Regions from separate parts of the Homo sapiens genome. Here region 2 is linked to region 1. The links are contacts of gene promoters, found by promoter capture Hi-C in blood cells and fetal thymus (Javierre and others, 2016). All regions are on one chromosome and are shown on one strand. The core of a region is centred on a gene start or on the middle of the fragment in contact, and the rest is flanking DNA. Distances in the headings are between cores, read along the strand shown.

Region 1 (7,911 bases), core at 3,208-5,707:
CAAACCAGGTTACCCACCAATGCCTAGAACTTTGTAAGTGGCATCAAGATATAAATTTATAATTGTAAAATAACCTATCAGCAGTTTGGGGCTGGGTGTCATGGCTCATGCCTGTAATCCCAGCACTTTGGGAGGCCAGTGCAGAAGGATTGCTTGAGCCCAGGAGTTTGAAACTAGCCTGGGCAACATAGCAAGAGACCCTGTCTCTATTTAAAAGATTTTATATATATATATGATCATATATAATATATATAAGATATATATGATCATATATATAATATATATATATATGATCATATATATCTTATATATATATATGCAGTTTGGAATTCTATTTGTCTTGCCTTATTTGCTTTTTAAAAATTTCTACCTTAGTTTTTTCCTGGTTTACTTTGAGTGTTTTTTTGTAGTCGGAGGAGATTGTTGGTGCGGCTGGGTGTAGGTATGAGGCAGAGGAGGAAGAGTAATTTATTCCATCTACTGAGCCTTTCATTTACTTTCTGTTTTAGCAGTAGAGTGGGATGTCGGAAGCTTTTGTTGGGTGAGAGTCAATCTGTCAGGGTAAATCTTAAAAAGCTGGATTTGTGGTTTAGTTACTAGTTACTGTGTCTCCAGTGGAGACAAAGATTAGTTTTTAAGATTTAGCCTTAATGGATGATTCACAAATTGCAATGCAGAGTATTGAAGTTAAGTCCAAGGTCAAGCACACAAGTGGGTAAAACTGAACATATGAAATGGGTGTGTGGCTGGCACCCACCTCTGACCTTTACTGAAATAAATGAGGAAGACGGTGCTGTAAGTGGAATGCCACGGACCAGGAGTTAAGACCAGAGTCCTCTGCTAGGCCCTGCATCTGAAGTCTGCAGAGCATGGCTTTTCATTGGCTCAGTGAGGAGTTGAGTCCTGGTTCAGAAAAAGTTACCGAGGTCTGTAAAAGTCAGTAGGATACCGGAACAAGAAAGAGTGGGAGAGTGTACAGTTCCCAGCGAACATTGCCAGTGGAGGCTAATTTTCACCAGTGAAGGGCGATTTTGATAGAAAAGCACAGTGTCTCAACTACTTGTGGTTTTTGATTCTGAAAGAGGAGGCTTTGGCAGGAGCAATAATACACGTGGCCTACCACCTGTTTGGCTTTTTCCCCACAGGTTGCAAGCTGCAGGGAGGGCCTTGCTAATTCTAGTACCTCCATCCCCGAATCGTCTAAATGTATTTTACCCAGGACCTGTCATGGTTTATCTGAGTGACCAGTTTCCTTTCCTCTCTTGCTTATTTATCATGTTCATATTTATATTTTTCATAATGGGGCCTATTTATATATTTTGAAGTAGTTCTAGTGATTTTAAGATCCAGCAAAACTTCAAGGTCATCTGGATTTTGGTGTTCTATTTAAGTTTTCTAACTTGATACAGTCTTTTTTTTTTTTTTTGTATTTTGTATGTTTTTCTACAAAATGTGAGAGAGTTAAGCATGTATAATTACATATGACTGCTGTTTTCACTTTGAAATTTTAAATCCTGCTTGGGAGAATGGAATAAGCTATTGTGTTTTTTGCAGGCAGCTATGGGATATCCCAATTTGTCCCTCCCTCCTCCTTAATTTTGAAGCCTGAGAGAGGAAGTAATAATTTTCTTTTTTTTTTTTTTTTTTGGTAGGGATGGGGTTTGACTATGCTGTGCAGGTTGGTCTGCAACTCCTAAGCTCAAGTGATCCGCCCTCCTCCGCCTCCCAAAGTGCTGGGATTACAGGCCTGAGCCACCGTGCCTGGTCTGAAGAAGTAATAATTTTAAGATTCAGTGTTGAGTGAAATAAATGTATTCTTAAAAATTTCTAAGAGTGTTTAACTCTCTGACCTAATATTTAATATTTTCCCCAATCATTAGGAAGTGCTTTTTTGTTGTTGTTGTTGTTTTTTTTCCAGGCAGGGTCTCGCTCTGTCACCCAGGCTGGAGTGCAGTGGCATGGTCACGGCTCACTGCAGCCTTGACTTCCCGGGCTCAAGTGATTCTCCCACCTCAGCCTCCCAAGGAGCTGGAACTGCTCAGCTAATTTTATTTTTGTAGAGACAGGGTCTGGCTATGTTCCCCAGGCTGGTCTCAAACTCCTGGGCTCAAGCAGTCCTCCACCACTCCTGGCCAAGAAGTGCCTTTTTTTTTTTTTTTTTTTTTAAAGTAGCTGCTGAACACAGGAGAATCTGCCTTTTTCTTGAATCGTGGTTTTTTTGTTTTTTTTTTTTTCAAGACGGAGTGTTGCTGTTGTCGCCCGGGCTGGAGTGCTGTGGTGCGATCTTGGCTAATTGCAACCTCCGCCTCCCAGATTCAAGCGATTGTCCTGCCTCAGCCTCCCGAGTAGCTGAGATTACAGGCACGCACCACCGTGCCTGGCTAATTTTTGTGTTTTTAGTAGAAACAGGATTTCACCATGTTGGCCAGGCTGGTCTCAAACTCCTGACCTTGTGATCCACCTGCCTCGGCCTCCCAAAGTGCTGGGTTTACAGGCGTGAACCACTGCACCCGGCCTGAATCATGGTTTTTTGAAACCATTGGCATCTGAACCTGTAGCTCTCTCTGGTAGTGTTGTGTGGTTTTAAATGTCATGTGAGCTGAGTTACTGACCTCAACCTACTGCCAGATGAAGGTGTGATCCTGTGATACCAATCTTGAGGGTCCCTTCTAGTTTTAGCAGTCAGTGACTTCTCTTGTTTATTTTTGTTTGAAAAAGTAAAAGGCTCTCTTTTTGGCTATAGAGTTGCATCTTGAAATTTTTGACAAATTACATAGAGCTGAAGAAGGATACAAGTTTTGATATCTTAAAATCACAGGGTTGAAGCTTGAAAGGACAGTATTGGCATTGCAGCTAAGTGGGAGTGTGAGGAAGCGCCTTCTCTAGGGCAGGTAATTGCATCTGTTAATGTGGTCCTTGGGCCCCTGAGTTGCTGCCTTCCAATCAGAATTCCCTTAGCATTAGCCAGTGACGCCTGAATTAATCTCAGGTAGGACTTCTAACTTTTTTCCAAAATTATTTTTGTGCAGAGGTTTATCTAGATTTTTCTTCTAAATGTCCTCCTCCCCACTTGTTTTATTATTACTGTTTTTTTCTCTCTTTAATTTTTTTTTTTTTTTAATAGAGACATGGTCTCACTATGTTGCCTGGGCTGATCTCAGACTCCTGGGCTCAAGTGATCCTCCTGCCTCAGCTTCCCAAAGTGCTGGGATTATAGGCGTGAGCCATTGCGCCTGGCTCTGTTACTGTTTTTCTAACCTGAGTTACTTAGGATCATATTTTCATTCTTTTTTAAAAAGATGGGAGTTTTCTGAACTTTTCCTTAACTAAAAAGTGGAATGCATCTTAATATTTTCCTTTTTTTACTTGTGTTTCTCCCCAGGGAGGGAAAAACATATTTATTGTGACAGAATTTAGCATATTTTAGGCCACATTAAAATACTGATAAATGTATTAATCAGTGAAAATAGGTTATAGTGAAAAATATATACCATTTGATTAATAAAAATGTTATTGGAAAAATGCAAGAACTGCTGTAAGAATTGCTAACATTGTGTTGGAAAATAAATATACTAAGCTAAGAAACAATGGGAAACTGTCATATGTAGGGCCAACAGCCTTTTTTTTTTTAAACCCTTCCAATTTATTAATATCTAGTCTAATAAACCCTGATTTATAGGACCTCTGCACCTTTTTTGACTTTTTATTCATCCATTCTTAATATTCTACACTATGACAAAATCCTTAAAACTCCATTATTGATGAAATGGGAACAGACTTTTGTTTTTGTATGTTGGTGTTCTCTGAGTGGTGAAGGCCCAGGGAGAATGTTTTGTTTGGTGGTCACTTAGCATTTGAAAACATCCACTTCCTTGTGACTTAGCTGGGTATCTTTTAACATCTGGAAGCCACGTCCCTGATTGAAATCTCTGGAGACAACTTACCTTTCACCAACTTGTCTGCCAAATTGCACCATGGACCAAGATTGCAGTGGCTGCATCAAGTCTAGGCCTGCCCTGAAGTCTGGATTTGTAAGTCCCCCATTTCAAATGGGGCAGAAGGCAGAGGAGCAGAGGAGCCACTGTGCCTTTCGCTGTCCTGGAGCCAGTTGGCCTTCTGGTTTTGGTGAACCCTGCTTTTATAAGAGGACTCCCTGGCATCTTCCAGTTTCCCGCTACTTGTTTTATGTATTATTTTATGTCTGTGTTTGTCCTGGAGTGCTGTAACTCCTTTCACTGTCTGCTGTAAGTTCAACTTCTTCAATAAAAGAAATGTTTCAAATTGGATGAAAAATGGTTCTGTGATTATGGTTTGTGGGACGGGTTCTGATGCTTCATTTATGTTCTTCATACGGAATTCTGTCTCATTTCCCTAGTTCTAAATATGACCAGCAGACCCAGAGTTCCATCTCGACTTCATAAAGGAGCTGTCTTGGACTGGGAACAGCTGCCAATGTCTTTGTTGAGATGGGAGTTGGAAAGTGTTAGCACTTTGCCAGACTTTGCCAGCAAGATTAACTGAGGAGATCAAATTGAGTCAGGGTGAGTGAGGGTTTTAGGTGAAAGTTGCTCTCCAAAAGATTGGATACCTCTGCTGAAGACCTCTGCCTGACCTCCAAGGCTGGAGAGCAGCTCTTATCTGTGTCCTGGCTGGCTTTCAATGCATGTATCCTTAAGTCATCTGCCTCTACAAATTCGTACAAACCACTCGTTCCCCTCTCATCCCTAGCATGTTCCCCTAGTGGCTGCTCTGAATTCTCACCCCTGTTCTGGATGGTACTCTCCCACCTGCCTTGCCCTGCCCCTCTTCCGTCAGCTCCGGACAGGTCAACTTTAGGGAATAGATTGAGGCAGATGGATGTGACTTCTGATCTGACCTGTTCTCCAATTCTAAATATCAACCGAGTTTTACATCTCAGCCTTCCCTTCCTTCCCTTCAGAGTTGGAGGAATGGTACTTGTCTTGGCCTCTCCCCTCTTGCTTTTGCCCTTTTCTTTTGGGTGGTCTCTGTTGGCAGCAACCAGCACTTTTTTTCCCATTTGGCGTTTTACCTCTGTTCATGAACATACATAGAACCACTTTCTCCTGGTGAAAGACATTTATCTTACAAAATATTTAGTTTTGAAATAATTAAAAATATATAAATAGTTGTAAGACTACTACAAAGAACTTCCCTTTGTCCAGATAGACTAATTGTGAACATTTTGCCACATTTGTGTTATTATACATGTTACTTGTTAAACCATTTGAGAATTACAGACATCATGCCCTTTTACCCCTAAATACTTTTCAGTGTACATTTCCTGAAACAAGGACATTCTCATAACCACAATACAGTTATCAAAAGCAGAAAACATTAATATGCTATCTAATAATATAGAGTCCATGTTCAAATTTTACATAATTTCACCAAATAACAGCCCTTGCAGCATTTTTGTTTTTTCCCAATCGGATTCAATTCAGAATCGTGCATTGCCTTTAGTTGTTGGGTCTCTTGAGTCACCTTTCATCTCTAACAGTTCCTTAGCCTTTCTTTGGTTTACATGGCATTTTATTTTGGCCAGGCGCGGTGACTCACGCCTGTAATCCCAGCACTTTGGGAAGCCAAGGCGGGCGGAAAGCACTTGAGGCCAAGGAGTTTGAGACCAGCCTGGCCAACATGGAGAAATCCTGTTTCTACTAAAAATACGAAAGTTAGCTGGGCATGGTGGCGTGCACCTATAATCCCAGCTACTGAGGAGGCTGAGGCATGAGAATCATCAGAATCTGGGAGGTGGAGGTTGCGGTGAGCTGAGATTGAGCCACTGCATTCCAGCCTGTGACAGAGTGAGACTCTCAAAAATAAAAGCAAAAAAAAACCCAGTTATTTTGTAGAATATCCTGTAATGTGGGTTTGTCTGTTTCCTTATGATTAGATTCAGATCATGTATTTTTTTGGCAATAATACTACTGAAGCATTGTGCCCTGCATGTATCGGATCAGGAGGTGTGTGATGGATGTCATTTTGTTCCATCGCTGATGGTGGTAACTTTTTTTTTTTTTTTTTTTTTTTTTTTTTTTGAGATGGAGTCTTACTCTTTTGCCTAGGCTGGAGTGCAATGGCACAGTCTTAGTTCACTGCAACCTCCACCTCCTGGGTTCAAGCGATTCTCGTGCCTCAGTCTCCCGAGTAGCTGGGATTACAGACGTCAGCCATTGTGCCCAGGCTATTTTTTCATTCTTTTATAAAAATTGGCATCATAGTGTGCACCCTTTTCTGCATCTTGGTTTTTTTATTTATTTATTTTTTTGAGACAAGGTCTCATTCTCTCACCCAGGCCCTGGAGTGCAGTGTTGTGATTACAGTTCACTACGGCCTCAAACTTCTGGATGCAGGTAATCCTCCCATCTCACCCTCTTGAGTAGCTGGGACTACAGGGGAGTGTCACCATACCCAGATAATTTTTTGTATGTTTTGTACAGATGGGGTTTCACCATGTTGCCCAGGCTGGTCTCAAATTCCTGGGCTCAAGCGATCTTCCCACCTTGGCCTCAAGTGTTGGCATTACAGGTATGAGCCACTGTGCCTGGCCTGCATCGTGCTTTTCTTATTAGTACTTCATGGAAATCTCTCTTAGCTGCTGGAAGTCAGATTCATCCTTCTGATGTTTGGGTGACGTCCTAGGTGCAGATGCACTGATTTGTTCATTTCTGTGTCTATAATGGTTCACTTTTGGTTTTTGCTCCTATGAATGATGCTGCAGCAATCACTCTTCAACAGTGGCCTTTCACAAAGGAGTCATTTAAATTACTACCCACCATCCTACCCACTCCACTGAAACACATTTTATTTTATTTTTTTGAGACGGAGTTGCGTTCTTGTTGCCCAGGCTGGAGTGCAATGGCACAATCTCGGCTCACCGCAACCTCCGCCTCCTGGATTCAAGCAGTTCTCCTGCCTCAGCCTCCTGAGTAGCTGGGATTACAGGCATCCACCACCACACCCAGCTAACGTTTGTATTTTTAGTGGAGATGGGATTTCTCCATGCTGGCCAGGCTGGTCTTGAACTCCTGACATCAGGTGATCCGTCTGCCTCGGCCTCCCAAAGTGCTAGAAGTACAGATGTGAGCCACCGCGCCTAGCCGTTGAAACACATGTTAAAGATTGCCATGAGCCTGGTGTGGTGGCATGTGCCTGTTGTCCCAGCTACTTGGGAGGCTGAGATGGGAGGATCACCTGAGCCCAGGAGTGCAAAACCAGCCTGGGCAACATTGCAAGACCCCATCTCAAAAGATCGCCATGAACCCTTTTTTAATTAAAATAAAAATCAGAGAATTGCATGATTTAGGCTATAAACATCTTCCATAATCTCACCTACCAGAGATGACTGCTATTAATTTTGGAGTATATGTTTCCAGGCTCTTTTTTATGCATGTGCCAATATGCACATGCATATATTCTTAACAGAAATGAACTTAACATTTTACATACACTTTAGTTTTTTCACTGGTAACCTCTTAATTGCCTTTTTCAGTGGCTGTTTCTTTCCCTTATCACCTTAGGTCACTTTGTAGCGTCCCATTCTCCTAGCTGTCTTGTGTGTTTCTCCCTCTTTCTGTCCTCTAAATGTAGCCACTCCTCAAGTTTCAGTCCCCAGATTTCCAGATACTTGTTTTTATTATTTCTTTTCTTTTTTTTTTTTTTGAGACAGGGTCTCACTCTGTCATCCAGGCTGGAGTGTAGTGGTATGATCTCAGCTCTCTGCAGCCTCAACCTCCTGGGCTCAAGTAATTCTCCCACCTCAGCCTCCTGAGTAGCTGGGTGTATAGGCATGTGCCACCACACCTGGCTAATTTTGGATTTTTTGTAGATGTGGGGTCTCAATGTTGCCCAGGCTGGTCTCAAACTCCTGGATGCAAGCGATCCTCCCGC
Region 2 (7,911 bases), core at 3,073-5,572, 520 kb after region 1:
ACCTACTCCATGCCAGGCACTGTGCTAAGTACCTTTGACACAATATAGGCATACCTCAGAGATATCACAGGTTTGGTTCCAGATCACCACAATGAAGAGAATATTGCAATAAAGTGAGTGACACAAATTTTTTGGTTTCCCAGTGCAAATAAAAGTTATATTTACTCTATACTGCAGTCTATTAAGTGAAAGCAATGTACATACCTTAATTTCATTATATTTATATTTTTTAAATATATCGAGATAGGGTTTCACTCTATCACCCTCGCTAGAGTGCAATGAAACTGTAGCTCACCCCAACCTTGAACTGCTAGGCCAAGCGATCCTCCTGTTCCAGCGTCCCAAGTAACTACGACTACAGGCATGTGCCACCATGCCCAGCTAATTTTTTTATTTAAAAATTATAGGGCCGGGCACAGTGGCTCACGCCTGTAATCCCAGCACTTTAGGAGGCCAAGATGGGTGGATCATGAAGTCAAGAGTTCGAGACCAGCCTGGCCAACATCTCTACTAAGTCTCTGCTAAGAATACAAAAATTAGCCAGGCATGGTGGTGCATGCCTGTAGTCCCAGCTACTTGGGAGGCAAGGCAGGAGAACTGCTTGAACCTGGGAGGCAGAGGTTGCAGTGAGCTGAGATCGCACCACCGCACTCCAGCCTGGGTGACAGAGCAAGACTCAGTCTCGAAAAAAAATAAAAATAAAAATAAAAAATAAAAACTATAAAGTTGTTATGCTGCCTGGGCTGGTGTCCAACTTGTAGGCTCAAGTGATTCTCCTGCCTCAACCTCCCAAAGTGTTGGGATTACAGGGATGAGCCACCACTGAATATTTTAAGCTCACTGTTGAGACCTACTGCTTAGGAAAAAAGATTCCTTTCTAAATATGACTGCTCATTGACAACGCACCTGGTCATCCCAGAGCTCTGAAAGAGATGTACAAGGAGATTATTAGTGTCGTTTTTATGCCTGCTAACACAATATCCATTTTGCAGCCCATGGATCAAGGAGTAATTTCAACTTTCAAGCCCTATTATTTTAATTTTTAGTTTATATAAGATCAATTCTTATTATTTAAGAAATATATTTCATAAAGCTATAGCTGTCGTAGATAGTGACTTTTGTGATGGATCTGGGCAGAGTAAACTGAAAACATTCCGGAAAGAATTCATCATTCTAGATACCATTAAGAACATTAATGATTCATGGGAAGAGGTCGAAATGTCAACATTAATAGGAGTTTGGAAGATACTGATTTCAACATTCATGGATGATTTTGAGGGGCTCACGACTTCAGTGGAGGAAGTAACATCCTCTTTAGCATCATTCTTAAGGGCCCTAGGATTTTCAGAATGGCAAATCAACACTGGCTTCAACTTAAAGTCACCAGCTGCCTTGGCCCCTAACAAGAGAGTCTGGCTGGGCACAGTAGCTCCCGCCTGTGATCCCAGCACTTTGAGAGGCCTAGGTGGGAGAACTGCTTGAGGTCAGGTGTTCAAGACCAGCCTGGGCAATACGGCAAGACCCCACCTCTAATTTTTTTAAAAGGAAACAAGAGACAGAGTCAGCCTGTCCTTTGAAGCTTTGAAGAATGGCACTGATTTCTCTTCTCTAGCTATGAAAGTCCCAGATGACATCTTCTTCCAACAGAAGACTGTTCATTTACACTGCAAATCTGTTGTTTAGTAGAACCACCTTCAGCATTGATCTTAGCTAGATCTTCTGGATAACTTGCACAGCTTCTACATCAGCACTATGGCTTCCCCTTGCACTTTGATGTTAGAGAGATGGCTTCTTTCCTCAAACCTTGTAAGTCAACCTCTGCTAGCTTCAAACTTTTCTTCTTCAGCTTCCTCACCTCTCTTGGGCTTCAGAGAACTGAAGAGGGGCCTTGCTCTGGATTAGGCTTTGGCTTAAGGAAGTGCTGCGGCTTCTTTGATCTTCTCTCCAGATCACTAAAGCTTTCTCCATATCAGCAAAAAGGCTGGGTTTTGTTGTTAGTGGTTTTTTTGGGTTTTCTTGTTTTTCTTTTTGAGATGGAGTCTCACTCTATTGCCCAGGCTGGAATGCAGTGGCACAATCTCAGCTCACTGCAACCTCTGCCTCCCGGGTTCAAGCAATTCTCCTGCCTCAGCCTCCCAAGCAGCTAGGATTACAGGTCTGCACAACCAAACCCAGCTAATTTTTCTATTTTTAGTAGAGACAGAGTTTTGCCATGTTGGCCAGGCTGATCTAGAACTCCTGACCTCAGGTGATCCACCCACCTTGGCCTCCCAAAATGCTGGGATTAAAGGTGTGAGTCACTGCGCCCAGCCTGTGAGCCATCACACCCGGCCAAAGAGGTTGTGTTGTTTTCTTATCATTCATGTGTTCAGTGGAGTAGTACTTTTAATTTCCTTCATGAACTTTTCCTTTGCATTTACAACTTGGCTGGTTGACATAAGAGGCCTAGCTTTCAGCCTAGCTCGGCTTTCAACATGATTTCCTCAGTAAGCTTAAACATTTCTGGCTTTTGATTTCAAGTGAGAGCCCTGCGACCCTTCCCTTCACTTGAGCACTTTAGAGGCCATTGTAGGGTGATTAAATGGCCCAATTTCAATATTGTTGTGTCTCAGAGAATAGGGAGGCCTGAGGAAAGGGAGAGAGATGGGGGAATGGCCGTCTGTGGAACAGTCAGAACACACACATCATTTACCAATTTAGGTCACTTTCTTATGTGGGTGTGGCTCATGGTGTTCCGAAACAATTTTAAGAATAACATTAAATAGCACTGATCACAGATCACCATAACAGATGTAATAATAATGAAGTTTGAAATATTGTGAAAATTACCAAAATATGACACAGAGACATGAAGTAAGCACATGCTGTTGGAAAAATGGTGCTGACAGACTTATTCAGAGTTGCCACAAACCTTCCATTTGTTAAAAATAACTCCATAATATCTGCAGAGTGCAATAAAACAAGGTATGCCTTTGTATCTATTTCACAACAACCCAAAGCAGGAGGTAATTGTTAACCCCTTATTAACCCCATTTTACAGATAAAGATGAAAAGTTGAAAACATCACATGCTCGCTGGTAAAACAGTGGAAAAGCTGAGATTTGAACCCGGGTCTGAGGCGAAAGTCTGGGCTGTTTCCCAGAGCACCACATCACCTCCTTCCTGTCCACCCCACACCACCATTACCGCCCCACCACCATTATTACCACTCAGCTGCCCACTTTGTAACAAATCCTCTCTGTACAGCCCTCACGGTCCCGCAGGTGGTCTTAACCTCCCGCTGAATATCAGTCCTACCTCCACTCCCACCTTGGCAGACTTTTTTTTCGAGACAGGGTCTCGCTATCTCACCCAGGATGGAGTGCAGTGGTGCGATCTCGGCTCACTGCAGCCTCGACTTCCTGGGCTCATGTGATTCTCCCACCTCAGTCTCCCAAGTAGCTGGAACTACAGTCGTATGCCACCTCAGTCTCCCAAGTAGCCAGAACTACAGTCGTATCCCACCCCACCCAGCTAATTTTTTGTATTTGCAGTAGAGACGGGGTTTCGCCATGTTGCCCAGGCTGGTTTCCAACTCCTGAGCTCAAGTAATCCACCTGCCTCAGCGTCTCCAAGTGTTGAGATTATTGGTGTAAGCCCCGTGCCCAGCCACTGGTGGACTTCAAATCTTCAAAGGACCAGCAGATCTGGAGGGTGATGCAGCAATACCCCACAGGATCCCTAAGCAGGACTCCAGGTCTCTGCTGCATCCCTACTGGGTCCAGCCTTTGGCATGCTCAAGAATACTAATATCAGTTTGTCACAGCTAACCTGACGCTCACCTCATCAGGAAAATCCTTGGGGTGGGGAGAGGTAAAACGGATCCTCATTTCAGGATCTACTCTGGAGACCTGATCCAGAAGATGAGCAAAACGAAGTCCTCCTTGCTTGGTTTTATAGTTGGTGGTAAAGCCACGACTGAGATTGGTAGGCACTGCACTGTTGAACTGGACCTCCGAATTGTCCCGAAAACTATTAACATTCTGACCAAGAAGTGTCACTTCTTTCAGCCCCTAAACATGGGAAAATATATTGGAATTTTAAAACTTTTGGGTAGCTTCATAAAAAAACACTAATTAAAAATTAGCTGAAATTAACATATCTTTTGTTTTAAACAAAAGAAAAATCGAACCTACCAAGAGTCACCTATAAGTGTGTTGTGTCTATAACCGAATAATTTCAAGCTTAGACATCTTACCTAAAGAGCTAAACCTAATAAAGCCTTATATAAAAATTAATCTTCAAAACATTATTTAGAATCAAAACTGGAAACAAACTCAATAATCCACAATAATGGTTAATTTATGATAGATCTGTCATTTGAATGTTATACACCATGACTATATAAAGTATTCTCACCAGAAATATTTAACCTGAACTAATCAAGCTTTTACACCTAACTTCCAGTTACTAGAATTCACAGAGATATATTAAATGACAACATGAGGAAAAAATCAGACAAAGGAGACTCATGTCTGATCTCTTCAAAAAGTTAATGCATCATTTAAAGAAAACAACAACAACAAAAAATAAAAGAGCTGTTTTAGATTTTTTTCTTCTTCTTCTTGAGACAGGGTCTCCCTCTGTTGCCCAGGCTGGAGTGCAGCAGCACGATCATAGCTCACTGTAGCCTCAACCTCCCAGGCTTAAGCAGTCCTCCTGCCTCAGCCTCCCAAGTAGCTGGGACTACCTTTTTTTACTTTTGTAGAGATGGGATTTCACCATGTTGCACAGACTGGTTTTAAACTCCTAAACTCAAGCAATCCTCCCACCTCAGCCTCCCAAAGTGTCTGGCTTAAATAACTATTGATTTTCATACATATGATAATGATATCATGGTTATGAAGAGAAAAATTGTTACTCATAGAAGATACATACTGAAGTATCTAGGGGCAAGTGTCCTGAGGTCTACAAATTACTTCAAATGGTTCAGAAAAAATACATTTATGGGTGCATGGAGATAGGTGTATGACAAAATGTTAACAATCACGTTTTTCTATTATACTAGTCTTTCTATTTGTCTGTTTGAAAATTTATATTATAGGCCAGGTGCAGTGGCTCCCTCCTGAAATCCCAGTACTTTGGGAGGCCAAGGTGGGCGGATCACACGGTCAGGAGTTCAGACCAGCCTGGCTAACATGGTGAAATCCCTTCTCTACTAAAAATACAAAAAATTAGCTGGGCGTGGTGGCAGGCACCTAATCCCAGCTACTAAGGAGGGTGAGGCAGGAGAATCGCTTGAACCCAGGAGGCAGAGGCTGCAGTGAGCCGAGACCATGCCACTGCACTCCAGCCTGGGCAACAGAGCGAGACTCCATCTCAAAAAATAGAAATGTTATATTATAAAGTTTCACAAATAATGGTTGCTAAAAAAGACTTGTTTTGTAACTTTGACATAATTTACAGACAAACTGCAATATTAAAAGAATTCCCATATACTCTTTGCCCAAATTCATCAAATGTTAACACTGCACCCCATTTGTTTATCATTCACATTCAGACACTCATATACACTCTCTCTCAACACACATATGACTACATTTTTTTTAAGCCTTCTGAGAAAAAGTCACAGATATCATACTCTTTTACTTCCAAATATTTTAGTATATATTTCTTAAAAACAAGGGCATTCTCCTATATAATTTCAGGACAATTATCAAAATCAGAAATATTGATACAACACTATTATCTACTTTCCATAAATCAAATGTTACCAATAGTCCAAATAATGTTTTGTTGTTGTTGTTGTTGTTATTGTTGTTTTTTGAGACAGAGTCTCACTCTGTTGCCCAGGCTGGAGTGCACTAGCGTGATCTTGGCTCACTGCAATCTCCGCCTCCCAGGTTCAAGCGATTCTCCTGCCTCAGCCTCCTGAGTAGCTGGGACTACAGGCGTGTGTCACCACGCCAGGCTAACTTTTTGTATTTTTTAGTAGAGACGGGTTTTGCCAAGTTGCCCAGGCTAGTCTCAAACTCCGGAGCTCAGACAATCTGCACACCATGGTCTCCCAAAATGCTAGGATTACAGGTGTGAGCCACCACGCCCAGCCCAAATAATGTTCTTTATAACATTTTTTTCCCTGATCAGAATCCCAATCGAGGACCGTGCGATGCATTTAGTTGTCATAACTCCAGTCTCCATAAAGGCTATTTATTTGTGTAAGTTGTGACATACTGTTAATCTAAAAAGCAGGATATACTAAATGCAATGTGGATCCTAGATTGGATCCTGGAAACGAAGTAAGACATTAGTGGAGAAACTGGCAAAATCCAAATAAAGTCTGAAGAGAGTTAATAGTAACATACCAATATTAATCTCTTAGTTTTTGCTTTGTTTGTTTTGTAATAGAGACAGCAGCTCCCAGTGTTGCCCAGGCTGGTCTTGAACTCCTACGCTCAAGGCACCCTCCTGCCTTGGCCTCCCAAAGTGCTGGGATTACAGCACCAAAAAATGTACCAAAGAAAGATGGCAATGCTCGAGGAAACTCTCTTTGCAACTTTCCTGTAAATGTAAAGTCATTCCAAAACAAAAAGTTTATTAAAAAGTAGGATATAAAACTAAGTAAAATACACACACATATATAAAAAGACATACAAACCAAATGCAGAATGACTTAAGGAACAATTGGGGAACTCCGAATAAGGATGAACTGGAATGAGACAGTATTTAGCAATTTTTGTTAATCTTACTGGAAGAACTAATGGTATTAAAAATATTCTTGGCCAGACACGGTGGCTCATGCCTGTAATCCTAGCACTTTAGGAGGCCAAGGCGGGTAGATCACCTGAGGTCAGGAGTTCGAGACCAGCCTGCCCAACATGGTGAAACCCCGTCTCTACTAAAAATACAAAAATGAGCTAAGTATGGTGGCGCATGCCTGTAGTCCCATTTACTCAGGAGGCTGAAGCAGGAGAATCACATGAACCCAGGAGGTGGAGGTTGCAGTGAGCTGAGATCGTGCCATTGCACTCCAGCATGGGCAAAAAGAGCAAAATTCCGTCTCTAAATAAATAAATAAAATAAAATAAAAATATTCTTTAGCAGCACATGGTGGTACGTGCCTATAATCCCAGCTACTCAGGAGGCTGAGGCAGGAGGATCACTTGAGTCCCGGGGGCAGAGGTTGCAGTGAGCCAAGATCATAACACTGCACTCCAGCCTGGGCAACAGAACAAGACTCTGTCTCAAAATAAATAAATAAATAAGTAAATAAATAAATAGGCCAGGCACAGTGGCTCACACCTGTAATCCTAGCCCTTTGGGAGGCTGAGCCGGGTGAATCACCTGAGGTCAGGAGTTTGAGACTAAGCCTGGCCAACATGGTGAAACCCCATCTCTACTAAAAATACAAAATTAGCTGGGTGTAGTGGTGCACACCTGTAATTCCAGCTACTTGGGAGGCTGAGGCAGGAGAATCACTTGAACCTGGGAGGCGGAGGTTGCGGTGAGCCAAGATTGTGCCATTGCACTCCAGCCTGGGCAAAAAGAGCGAAACTCCATCTCAAAAATAAATAAATAAATAAATAATAAAAAGATTTTTAAATGTTTAAAAAAGAAAATATCCTTATTTTTTAGAGATGCATACTGAAGGATGAAACAACATGCTCTACTTTGAAATACGTTTTCAATAAGAAAAAAATAAATGAGGCCAGGCGTAGTGGGCTCACACCTGTAATCCCAGCACTTTGGGAGGCCGAGGCGGGTGGATCACTTGAGATCAGGAGTTTGAGACCAGCCTAACATGGTGAAACCCCGTCTCTATTAAAAATACAAAAATTAAGCCAGGCACAGTGGCTCTTACCTGTAATCCCAACACTTTGGGAGGCCGAGGTGGGAGGAACACCTGAGGTCGGGAGATCGAGACCAGCCTGA

Evidence for each region. The method cuts DNA at HindIII sites, captures the fragments that hold promoters and counts their contacts. A CHiCAGO score of 5 or more calls a contact.
Region 2: a fragment that was not itself captured here is called in contact with the fragment with the promoter of EFCAB8 in region 1 in 1 of 17 cell types (M1 macrophages); the score reaches 7.6 in M1 macrophages.

What each region holds. Positions count from the first base shown.
Region 1 is chr20:32,854,466-32,862,376 of GRCh38, forward strand. EFCAB8 (EF-hand calcium binding domain 8) reads left to right here and starts at 4,458. Exons shown (of 27, transcript NM_001143967.2): 1 at 4,458-4,541. It overlaps LOC119746555 (a long non-coding RNA gene), which reads left to right and starts at 2,167. Exons shown (of 1, transcript NR_171378.1): 1 at 2,167-4,286. RefSeq lists an enhancer at 4,325-5,137. The HindIII fragment of the contact is 6,288 bases long and covers 2,825-7,911 here.
Region 2 is chr20:33,375,640-33,383,550 of GRCh38, forward strand. It overlaps CDK5RAP1 (CDK5RAP1 mitochondrial tRNA methylthiotransferase), which reads right to left. Exons shown (of 14, transcript NM_016408.4): 8 at 3,822-4,052. Among named protein-coding and RNA genes, the nearest start is that of CDK5RAP1, 22 kb to the right of the region's middle. The HindIII fragment of the contact is 203 bases long and covers 4,222-4,424 here.